2 separate regions of the Homo sapiens genome follow, and region 2 is linked to region 1. The links are contacts of gene promoters, found by promoter capture Hi-C in blood cells and fetal thymus (Javierre and others, 2016). All regions are on one chromosome and are shown on one strand. The core of a region is centred on a gene start or on the middle of the fragment in contact, and the rest is flanking DNA. Distances in the headings are between cores, read along the strand shown. Region 1 holds the start of WFS1 (wolframin ER transmembrane glycoprotein). Region 2 holds the start of STX18 (syntaxin 18).

The links. The method cuts DNA at HindIII sites, captures the fragments that hold promoters and counts their contacts. A CHiCAGO score of 5 or more calls a contact.
Region 2: a fragment that was not itself captured here is called in contact with the fragment with the promoter of WFS1 in region 1 in 1 of 17 cell types (non-activated CD4 T cells); the score reaches 5.4 in non-activated CD4 T cells.

Annotation. Positions count from the first base shown.
Region 1 is chr4:6,268,378-6,273,213 of GRCh38, forward strand. WFS1 (wolframin ER transmembrane glycoprotein) reads left to right here and starts at 1,473. Exons shown (of 8, transcript NM_006005.3): 1 at 1,473-1,637. RefSeq lists a silencer at 1,451-1,560 and an enhancer at 4,481-4,836. The HindIII fragment of the contact is 3,425 bases long and covers 905-4,329 here.
Region 2 is chr4:4,539,762-4,544,717 of GRCh38, forward strand. It overlaps STX18 (syntaxin 18), which reads right to left and starts at 2,287. Exons shown (of 11, transcript NM_016930.4): 1 at 2,036-2,287. The coding sequence starts at 2,203. LOC124900165 reads left to right here and starts at 2,370. Exons shown (of 6, transcript XM_047416490.1): 1 at 2,370-2,714. It overlaps STX18-AS1 (STX18 antisense RNA 1 (head to head)), which reads left to right and starts at 2,370. Exons shown (of 6, transcript NR_037888.1): 1 at 2,370-2,714. RefSeq lists enhancers at 2,157-2,436, 2,161-2,455. The HindIII fragment of the contact is 1,321 bases long and covers 1,132-2,452 here.

The DNA.
Region 1 (4,836 bases), core at 223-2,722:
TCTTGTAGATTTTTTGTTGCACTTCCTCTCTTCCCTTAGACCTCCACAGGAGGAACTTTTCAATCTGTCCTCTTCTCTCTGCTTAATGAGCCCCTGCAAAGGGTTTGGGAAGTGCTTCAGCCTCTCTGTGATTGTGTGTTCACATTAATATTTATTATTTTCTTAAATGTGCATAAATCTCACAATGTGAACAGTGATCATCTTTGAGTGATTTTTTTTCTCCTTTCTACTTTTAGTAATTCTCCAAATTTTCTACAGTTAGTGTGTGATAAGGTGGAAAGACATCTTCAAGACTTTGGGCAAATAACTATGTCTGAGCCTCAATTTTCACATCAATAAAAAATGGGCTCAGTGCCACCTCCCTCCTTGGGTCACTAGGGGGGCCCTTGAAAGCTGTGAAAGCCCCTAAGCCAACCTGGACAGAGCAGGCGAGGCTGACGGCAGGTGTTCTTCCTTCCTCTGTGAGCCTCACAGGGTCACACGTGAACATTGGGGATCGGGGGTGGGCAGTGGGGGCAGCTGGAGAATCAAATGAGGTGACTGACATGAACTACGCCGCTTTGACAAAAGTCCTCCGAAGTAGTGTGTTCAGAACTCATCTCCAAAGCCATCTGGAATATTTGCTCCCAACATGTTGGTAAGCATTATCTCTGACAGTCACTCCGAGCCCCAGTTTCTGCTGTGATAACTAGGACAGGTAGCTCAGGTTGGTTGTGGGGACCAGAGACAGAGCAGGCAGGGTCTCACGTTCCCCAGGGCCTCTCAAGGATAGACCCTCGCCCTCATCTCCAAACCACGCCTCCCAGACAGGAACCAAACTCCCAGAGTCTCCAAACTGCCTGAGCCTTGCCCACTCCCTGGGCTAACACACACTTTAAAGGAATCCCACAGTCACCGTGTGAAAAGCTTGCTACACTGCATTTGATTCTGGGCACTGAAAGCAGTACTTGGCTGCAGACACTCGTTTCAAACAGGCCCCATTTTTCCATCTCTGCTGCTGTTATTAGGGGAGCCCTTAGACTCTCTTGCAGCGCCGGAATAGGCGCTCAAGACGTGTGTTAATATTGCAACAGCAAATATAATGAATCTGCAGTTGGGGACGCTGAGGCCGGAGTGGTGGATGAAAGGTGGCCGGAGCCTTTTCCACGGGTCCAAACCACCTGTTACAGGAGAAGGCGAGCGGCCTCGCTAAGCAACTGGACGTTCCGCGGGCGGGGCGGGGGCGGGGCCGGGGCCCGAGTCCGCTCGGAAACTTTCGCTGTGGGCGAGCCGGACCCGCCTTCTGGCCCCTCGGGCCCAACCACGCAGGGGGAGTGCCGGGCCGCAGCTAGGCGAGGCGCACCGTGATTGGCGGAGATGTGGAGTGATTGGCGGCTACACCGGCCACTCAGCAGGCCGAGCTGGCGCCGCATCCGGGGGGCCGCGTCTGGAGTGGAGGGAGGCCGAAGGCCCCGCCCCTGCCCCGCCCCCTCGTGCAGAAGGCCGCGCTAGCCGGCTCTTCAGCAGCGAGTGCAGATTGCTCCCCCGCGGCCGCAGATCTCCCGTTTGCGCCGCGTTCAGCTGCTCCCGAACAACTTTTCTGCCGGCCCAGAGGCCCCAGGGCGTCGCAGCGCCGCGTGCGGCCCACTCACGGGCCGGTGAGTACTTCGGCGCTGGGGCAGTGGCGCGGTGGCTGTGGGCAGCGCGCAGGAGGCGGGCAAGAGCCCTGAGGCACTGTCCTCTTCGGGCCTCAGTTTCCCCTTCCGAGCTGATGGGTGGCTGGCCCCAAAGTCCCGACAAGGTCCCCGAAGTTGGAGGGCCGGGGGTCCCGCCCGCTCTGCAACGCGCAAGGCGACCCCTGTTCCGGGCCCGAACGGGTCACCCGGGGGGCGCGCCCCGGTCCCCCGCGCGCTGTCGCCTGGAGCCCCGCCGCGGGCGGGACAGCAGGCCCGAGAGGCGGAGCGGCCGGCGGGCAGGCCCCCTCCCCGCGCCCCGCGCCATCCCCCCCGAGTTGCCCCGTCATGCCCCTCCCCCGCGGTCCCGGGACCCACGGCCGCCCTCGGTGCCCGCCCGGCCGTTGGAACGCGCCTGGGCCCCCGGGAGGTGTTGTGGGGGGGAAGGGGGGTTCAGTCCCCCAGGGGGACCCGGCCCGCCCGAGGGGCAGCTTAGGGGTCATTCTGAATCCCCACAGCCCACTTAGGAGCGCTGTGGCAGTTCCTCTCTCTCTCGGGGCCCCTCAGTAGAGAGTTGAGGGGTTTCAGTGGCAGCACCTGGACCCTGCCTCGTATGAACTCCACCCTCTGGATCATTAGCTTTTTGTTTGATCAACGAAAACTTTCTGGAGAATCCTACCCAGCCCTTTTGGATGTGATGGCGCCCTGGCCTCTCACCCACTTAGCAGATGATGTTATGAATTCCAAGGAAGTCGCATTTGTGCAACCCCCCACCACCCAGATTTAACCCTCTCAGTAGCCTTAGGCGGAGAAGTTATAGTCCCCGTTTGACACCCCAGGAAGCTGAGGCTCAGCAGGGTTTGGTGCCAGCCCAGGACCACGAAGCTGATGGGGCAGAGCCTGGTGTGAGGCCTCTGCCCTATCTCTCCAGAAGCAGCCCCGTCTCTCCTCACCTTGGACAGTGACCCCTGGCATTTGGCCCAGGGCTTTGCAGTTTGTAAAGGGCTTTCTCTTATGCCAGCATCCATCACTCAAGGAGCTGTGCCCTGGGTACCCCATGTGCTGGCTGCCTGTTCTCTGCAGCAGGAGAGGGAGCCCACGGGAAGCCCAGAGGCCACCTTTGTCACTGTCGCCACCTGTTTACTTCTGTGTCCAAGGGTCTGTGATTCCCATGGGGTCTCCGTTGTATCCAACCAGGGATTTGGAGGGAGGCTTCTCCACATTTCAGCCTCTTTTCCCTACCTGCTGGTTTGTCCTCCCTTCGCAGACACAGGAAAAGTTGGCTGGGAGACCCCATCTCACCTTCTTTCCCAGGATGGAAGAGCATGGAGGGCGTCTCTGACTTAGGCCTCCCCTGCCCATCCCGGACCAGTGCTGGACAGGCTTCTGGGGCTGGTCACAGAGGGGACCTCAGCTCAGTCTCAACCCCCAGAGATGTCTGCACTGCCAGACAGACCCGAAACACCCATCCTTGACGGTGGCAATAAGAATCATAATAGGTCGGGAGCTTTATGCCTACACGGCTCCCCTCCCCTCCCACTTCCCTACTTCCGGAAGTGGTACCACCACAGCCAGCCAGCCCCAGCCACAAACCAGACCACCCCCTGTGCCCTTCATTCCTCACTCCCAGTTGGGTCTCTCCTGGCTCCTGAGCCTCACTCGGATGCCTGCCCTGGTTCAGGACCCTCGCCTCTCCCTGGACGACCCCCAGGCTCCTCCCTGGTCCCGATCCGGGCCTGGCTGCACGCAGCCCTGCTGGTTCTTCAGCTGCCACTTCCCTCTGGGCTATCGGGTCAGGTCCGCCTCCCGAGCCAGGAGCCGGCATTCTTTCGGGCCCTCAGGGACCCGCCTCGCTGCTCACTCAGCCTCTCCCTCCTGTGTCCTCTCTCCAGCAGTCACCTCCCAGCCACCTGCGTGTTCCTGGCCACAAGCCTGGCTCACTGTCCCTCTGCTGCCTCCTCTTCTGGGCACAACCCCTGCTGGAATGCCCAGCCACCTCCCAGCTTGCCTGGCTCCTGCCTGCTTGTCCAGAAGGCTCAGTCAAGTCCTCCTGCAGGATTTCTGGCCTGCCTCTTCCCACAGTGGAGTGAGGGCCCCCTTCTGTGCCGTCTTTGTGGGTGTCTGTTTAGGTGTTAACCCTTCCCATCTAGATGAAGCTGCTCCAATGCTGGCCCTGGACAAGACTTCTCTAGGGCAGGGGGGCCCAGCACAGTGCTTGGCACAAGATGGACCTACCCTCAGTCCACACCTGCTGCCCATCCAGGCCAGGCCTGGAGCAGGTGCCAGGTGTGTGGTGGGGGCTTGGCCACTATGGCCGTCATGAATGCTGCTTGGGGCAGTCCCAATTCAAACCCCTCTGTTCCTGTGAATGTGCCACATTGGATAGAGCTGGAATGTTCCTTGGTTTGTCCCTTAATACTCTGAGCAAAAATAGGTACCTGGGATCCATCAAGGGCTTTGTGCCCTTGTCTTGAGGAGCAGCCCTGTGCCAGGGGGCTGGGTCAGGCCAGGCCAGAGCAGACATCCCAGGGCCAGGACCTCCTGGGCCTGCTCCCTTAGAGCTTGCTCACAGATGGGTTTTAAAATAACATTTGCTTTAATTTCAAAAACATCACACATTCATTATAGAAAACTAGGGAAATATGTTTAAAAGAAGAATAAAATGAAACCGCGCATAAGCTTTATCCCCAGAGACAACAAGTATCTTTTTTAGGGGGCGTTTTCTTCCGTTTTTTGGCAGATAAATTTTGTTTTCATCCTAAACAGACTCCGGCTAATATCTTCTGCTGCTTTAAATCCTGCCTTAACAGTGTTAGGCCCACCTTTTCCTTGTCTCAAAACGTTCATGTACGAGGTCACGTTTACCAGCTGTACAGCGTTGCACCATATGGAGGGGTGTAGGCTTTATAGCCAGCCCCTTTCTGGACAGTGCTGAAAGTGCCATATGATGGACATTGTGTGTGAGCCCCGAGGGCATCTCCAGTGACTCCCCTGGACTGGCATCCTGGAGGCAGAGGCACTGATCAGAGAGAGTGAACATCATCTTGGCTTCCCACAGGGGCTGTTTCTGAGGCACTGGCTTGGGAGATGGGGTTGCCCCCCCAGAGAGAACAGAATGGGGGTGGCCTGGGTGAGGGCCAGAGCCCTTAGGGCAGAAGGCCACGTGTGGTCATTCTGCTGCGGG
Region 2 (4,956 bases), core at 542-3,041, 1.7 Mb before region 1:
TGGGACTGTTACTGTCCCTGAGGCCCATTAACTCAAAACTCAAACACATTTTCACCACTCAGGGAGAGGTGGAAGTGATCACAGGGCTCTCCAAAGGGCTTGCCAACCCAACTGTGCCTCCTGTCTCTACCATTCCCAAATCCCCCCTTTCCCTGAGCAGGACTCAAAATTAGCACAGTGTTAATAAATCAGTGGTTTCAGAGTTAGAAGGGACCCTTAAAAAGCCAATACTGTGATATTCATACCACAGTTCTACAAAAGGAATCTCAAGAAGTGCTTGGGCCAAACTGGGAGGGAGAGTGTCCTGTTTCTCTTCCTCTTATTTCAACCTAGGAAGCTCCCACTTTAATTTGTTACATATAGAGGACCAAGGTAGTTTTTTAAAAGGAGGAGGAGAAAAAAAGGACCATTTACAGGTAAATAAACTGAGGTCTTAAAACTTGCTTAATGAAATCATATAGCTAATAGTTGCAGGGTTCAGACAACAACCTCGTCTCTTGGCTCCTTCTCTGGTGCTTTCTCTACCAGATAACATCTGACCATCTACAGGGCAAAATTCAAACTCTGCAATGATACACAAAGCCCTTTAAGATCTCCGCGTCCAATTTTTATGAGAGTCCCACATTCCAGTCTCACTCAAATGTTTATTGAACCAACTTATGTCAGACTGTTACCTACCTCCACAGCTTAGCGCATACTATTCTCTTAGCCTGAGATGTCCTTCTGCACTGGAACCAACTAATCCTCTTTCAAGATTTGTTTTAGGCATCATCGCCTCTATAAAGCCTTTTCTGGTCCTCAGGTAGAACTGACCACATTCTTTTTGTGCCCTACACAACACCTGCAAGGCTTTATGGCACTTGTTTTATGTCTATGTCCGTCTACTCCACCACTGCTTTTACATCATATTACTCTAACACGAGGCTGGTCAGAAGGTAGGTGCTTCATAGACGGTCATCAATAGGGCGAGTGTATTCATCTGGTCCAATCCCCTTTCTAATGTTTAAGTATCCTCTGCTAACTGTCATTAATGCATGCATGACTACATTCATTCAAAAATATCTGAGTGTCTATACAGTGCCAAGTGTATGCCAAGCAGAGAAGGATTTACTGTGAAATTAATGAGGCTTAAGCTTTAGGGTCCCTCTCTTCAATCTTCCAAAGCTCTGAATCTTTCTTGGTGATTTTTATTTCTTGAAGAGGGCAGACAGAACTATATAAGCTGTAGGCCCCACAAAACCTAGATACCTCCTTGGTGTCACGAACACAAAAGGGAACAAGACAAACAGCTCTCCCCTTATGGAGTTTTCTGTTTAATGGGAAAGACAGCCATTTGTTCATTCACTCATTCAACAAACATTTACTAAGCAATGCTATGAGTCATGCATTCTGAGATGAAAACAACACTGTCCCTGCCCTTAAGGAAAAGGTTCCTGTTCCCAGGGAGATGAAGGGACACCTGCTCTGATCAGGGAACAGAAAGTAGTTGAGGTGACTGTAACACTGTGTTTGCGAAAGATTACCCTAAACCCGTCTCAAGAGGAACTGAGTCCTACTTATTGCAGAGACAAAGGGAAGAAAGAGTTCGGCTGAATACAGTTTTTAATCTCAACTAGGGGTGGGAGGCAGACAAGTAAATAGAACAGGCAAATATGGTGTGGTCAGTGCTGCAACAGGAAGCGAAGGACTGTCAGGAGGTTTCCCCTGAGTGCAAGTCTGTAGTGACGGCGAACTCATGACCTCACAAAGCCGCCCATGCACTTTCCAGATAGAGATTTCTGAGGATCTCCTTTCTTGTCCCCCAATCCCTGTCGCCGCAGGAGAAATCTGTTCCCCAATATGCGTCCCCCTTCCTCAAAATAAGGCTGTTCCTTCCCCCAAAAAGCTGTAGGGTCTCTGAGGCCAACTCTTCTGTCCCCCTTAGAGCCACCCCCTTCACACAATGCTTACGGGACGGGGTCTGGTTTGGGGCCCGGGGTCCCTGTCGCAGGACTGCCCCCTCCTCAACCCGCCGTTTCCATAGCAACCAGCTCACCACTTCGCGGGCCCGGCTGGAGAAGTCGCCCTTGGGCCGGGGGCTCCGGCGGAACAGCTCGTCCCGGCTGCCATCGACCCCGCCGCCCACCGCCACTCCCAGCGCCTTGTTCCGCGTCTTCACGGTCTTGACGCTGGCCCGGAATAGCAGCGTGATGTCCACCGCCATAGCGACCCGCACCCTCAGCCCCACACTAGGCCCGCCCACGTAAGCAGCCGGCGACCGCGGCGCGAACCCGGCCGCTGAAGGACTGGTCCTGCCCCACACGCCTCCCCCCGGCAACGGCGACGCGAGAAGAAAGGTTCCGGCCTGCGCCCTGCTACCGCGGCGGGAGGAAAAAGGTTCCGGCCTCAGCCGGCGCACCTGGCGGAGGAGGAACCTCGCGACGCGCTCTCGGGCATCGGTTTCTCCCAGCAAAGCTTGGAGGGTTTAGCTGCGCGGAGAGCTCAGCGAGCTCTTCTGTGTCTGTTTGGGGCGTGTGGGCTCCGGGAGCGTGAGGACCGGGAAGCTAGGAGGCTCCTTCCCTTCTGGCGGCTCCCTCACTGAGACCGGGCGGTTTGGTTGCGGGGGAAGTGGAGACGAGCCACCCTTGACCTTTGACTGCAAGAACTCACCTTGAGCAGGATAGAGGCACGTGGACGGTGACCCTCGGGATGCAATAAATGCTGAGACAGATCAGGTGTGCAAGGCACAGAGCTAGAGGCCAGAGGCCTTTCTTCTCCAACCTTCAGTCACCTCTTTTTAAAGTGAAGCCAGCATCCTCCTCGGGGTTTACTGTGAAAATTAAGTGAGCTGACGCGTGCTGTGTTTTGATGTTGCTTGGCTCCTAGTAAGTGGCCAATAAATGGTAGTAATCGTTAATAATGTTATTATTATAATCACTGTTATTTGTGGTAAAGGAAGAGGCTTTAGAGAAAAGGCGTCACCTGTGCAGAGATTTGAAGGATGAATAGGAAGTTTAGATGGAGACAAAGGTGAAAGAGTGGCCCTAATGCCGCTGGATTCTCTTCATCCTTCATGCATAGTTTTTAATTGTACCGTCTTGAGCCATAGCTATTAAAATTGACAACTCAATCAATGAGTTTCTTCTGCATTTTAGGTTCATGTTCTGTTTTGTGTTGTTTTTTGAGACGGGGGTCTACTATGTTGCCCAGGCTGGATTGCAGTGGCTAGTCAGAGGCGCCATCCTAGCTCACTACAGCTGGAACGCCAGGGCTCAAACGATCCTCCCGGACTCAGCCTCCTGAGTAGCTGGGACTATAGGCACGTGCAACCGTGCCTGGCCTATGGTTCAGTTTTAATTCAAAATCTCATTGATTTCTTCAAGATTTCTTTTTTCATAAAGAGGAAGCACAAGTAGAATATGTATTAAAACAGCAGTTTTAATGGTCATCAAGATAAAATTTTCACAATACTAAGATGTTATTTGCCTTTTCGCTCTGATTTTCTTATGAGTTGCATACAGTTGAGTTTGCTGGAGACTGTGATATTGCAACGGAGTAAATGCAGAACAGCTGTTTTCTATTAAGCCAGACTCCAAAAAAAGACTTTCAAAAACATCAAGTTTTTGTTTTGATTTCTCATATAGTAAATGTCGATAATGTCAATATAAACCAAAATTGTTTAGAGCCCTTAATAATTTTTAAGTGTGCAAAAGAGTTGAGACCAAAAGTTTGAGAACCACTGTGTTAAAAAAATAAAGTTTATCAGAAATAGATGTCAAGAAAGTATATATTTACCAGAAAGGAGGAAGGAAAAGATTTTTTTTTTCTTTGAGGCGGAGTCTTGCTCTGTCGCCCAGGCTGGAGCAAGCTCCGCCTCCCGGGTTCACGCCATTCTCCTGCCTCAGTCTCCCGAGTAGCTGGGACTACAGGCGCCCACCGCCACGCCTGGCTAATTCTTTTGTATTTTTAGTAGAGATGGGGTTTCACCGTGTTAGCCAGGATGGTCTCGATCTCCTGACCTCGTGATCCGCCTGCCTCAGCCTCCCAAAATGCTGGGATTACAGGCGTGAGCCACCGCGCCCGGCCAGGAAAAGATTATTTAAACCCAAACTGTAGCCACTTCTTGCAGTTTAAGGAAAATAAATTTCCATACAGCTTTCTTCCACCTACTGAGGAAAAGAGAAAGAAATTACAAAATCTCTGCCAATGATTCTATCTTGCATAAATGGCCCTTTGTTTAATCCAGACATTAATCAGTTTTTGGCCATGCAAAGTTAAGCCTGGGGTAGAGTAGAAGGAAAGAGAGATTGCCCTGCATAATAAAGTGAGGGGGATTGAATTGGGGGGAAGAAAAGAGAAGCCAGAACCCAGGGAGGGGGCCGGGAAAGTACAAAGTAGGTAACTGGGAAGGATCTTTGAGTGGGAGGGAGGCTGAACTACACCAAGCCTTCAGTGAGTGGTGCCTTGTGTAAACCGTGTGTTTGGTGCAGTTGGATATTTTGGGTAGAAGGGTAGGGACAAAGATCTAAGTTTTCTGTCTGGATTTGCAAGAGCAGAGAAGATTGTGGTGGATATAAGACCCAAGTGAGCTCAAAACATCAGGCTGTAAATCCACAAGTGACCACAAGTACATAAAATTCCTAAATAAGTCACAAAGATCTTGAGGAGGCTGCTGAACTTTCCACAGACCATGGGATATGGGGTTGTGCTTTTTACATTTTGTGTTTACTCTTTAATTTAAAAGAGCAAAGTGACTTCAGTTGACAGTTGACTAATATTAAGCCCCATAAAGCTGAGAGGGGATGTGGGTTAAAAGGATGTGCAGAAATGTTGTGAGAGTATACTACTGCAACTCCAGGGCTCAAACAATCCTCCCGGCTCAGCCTCCTGAGTATCTGGGACTATAGGCGCGTGCCACCATGCCTGGCCTGTTGGAGGTAGCACACAACTGCCCAGTTGGATGTAGTATACAAATTT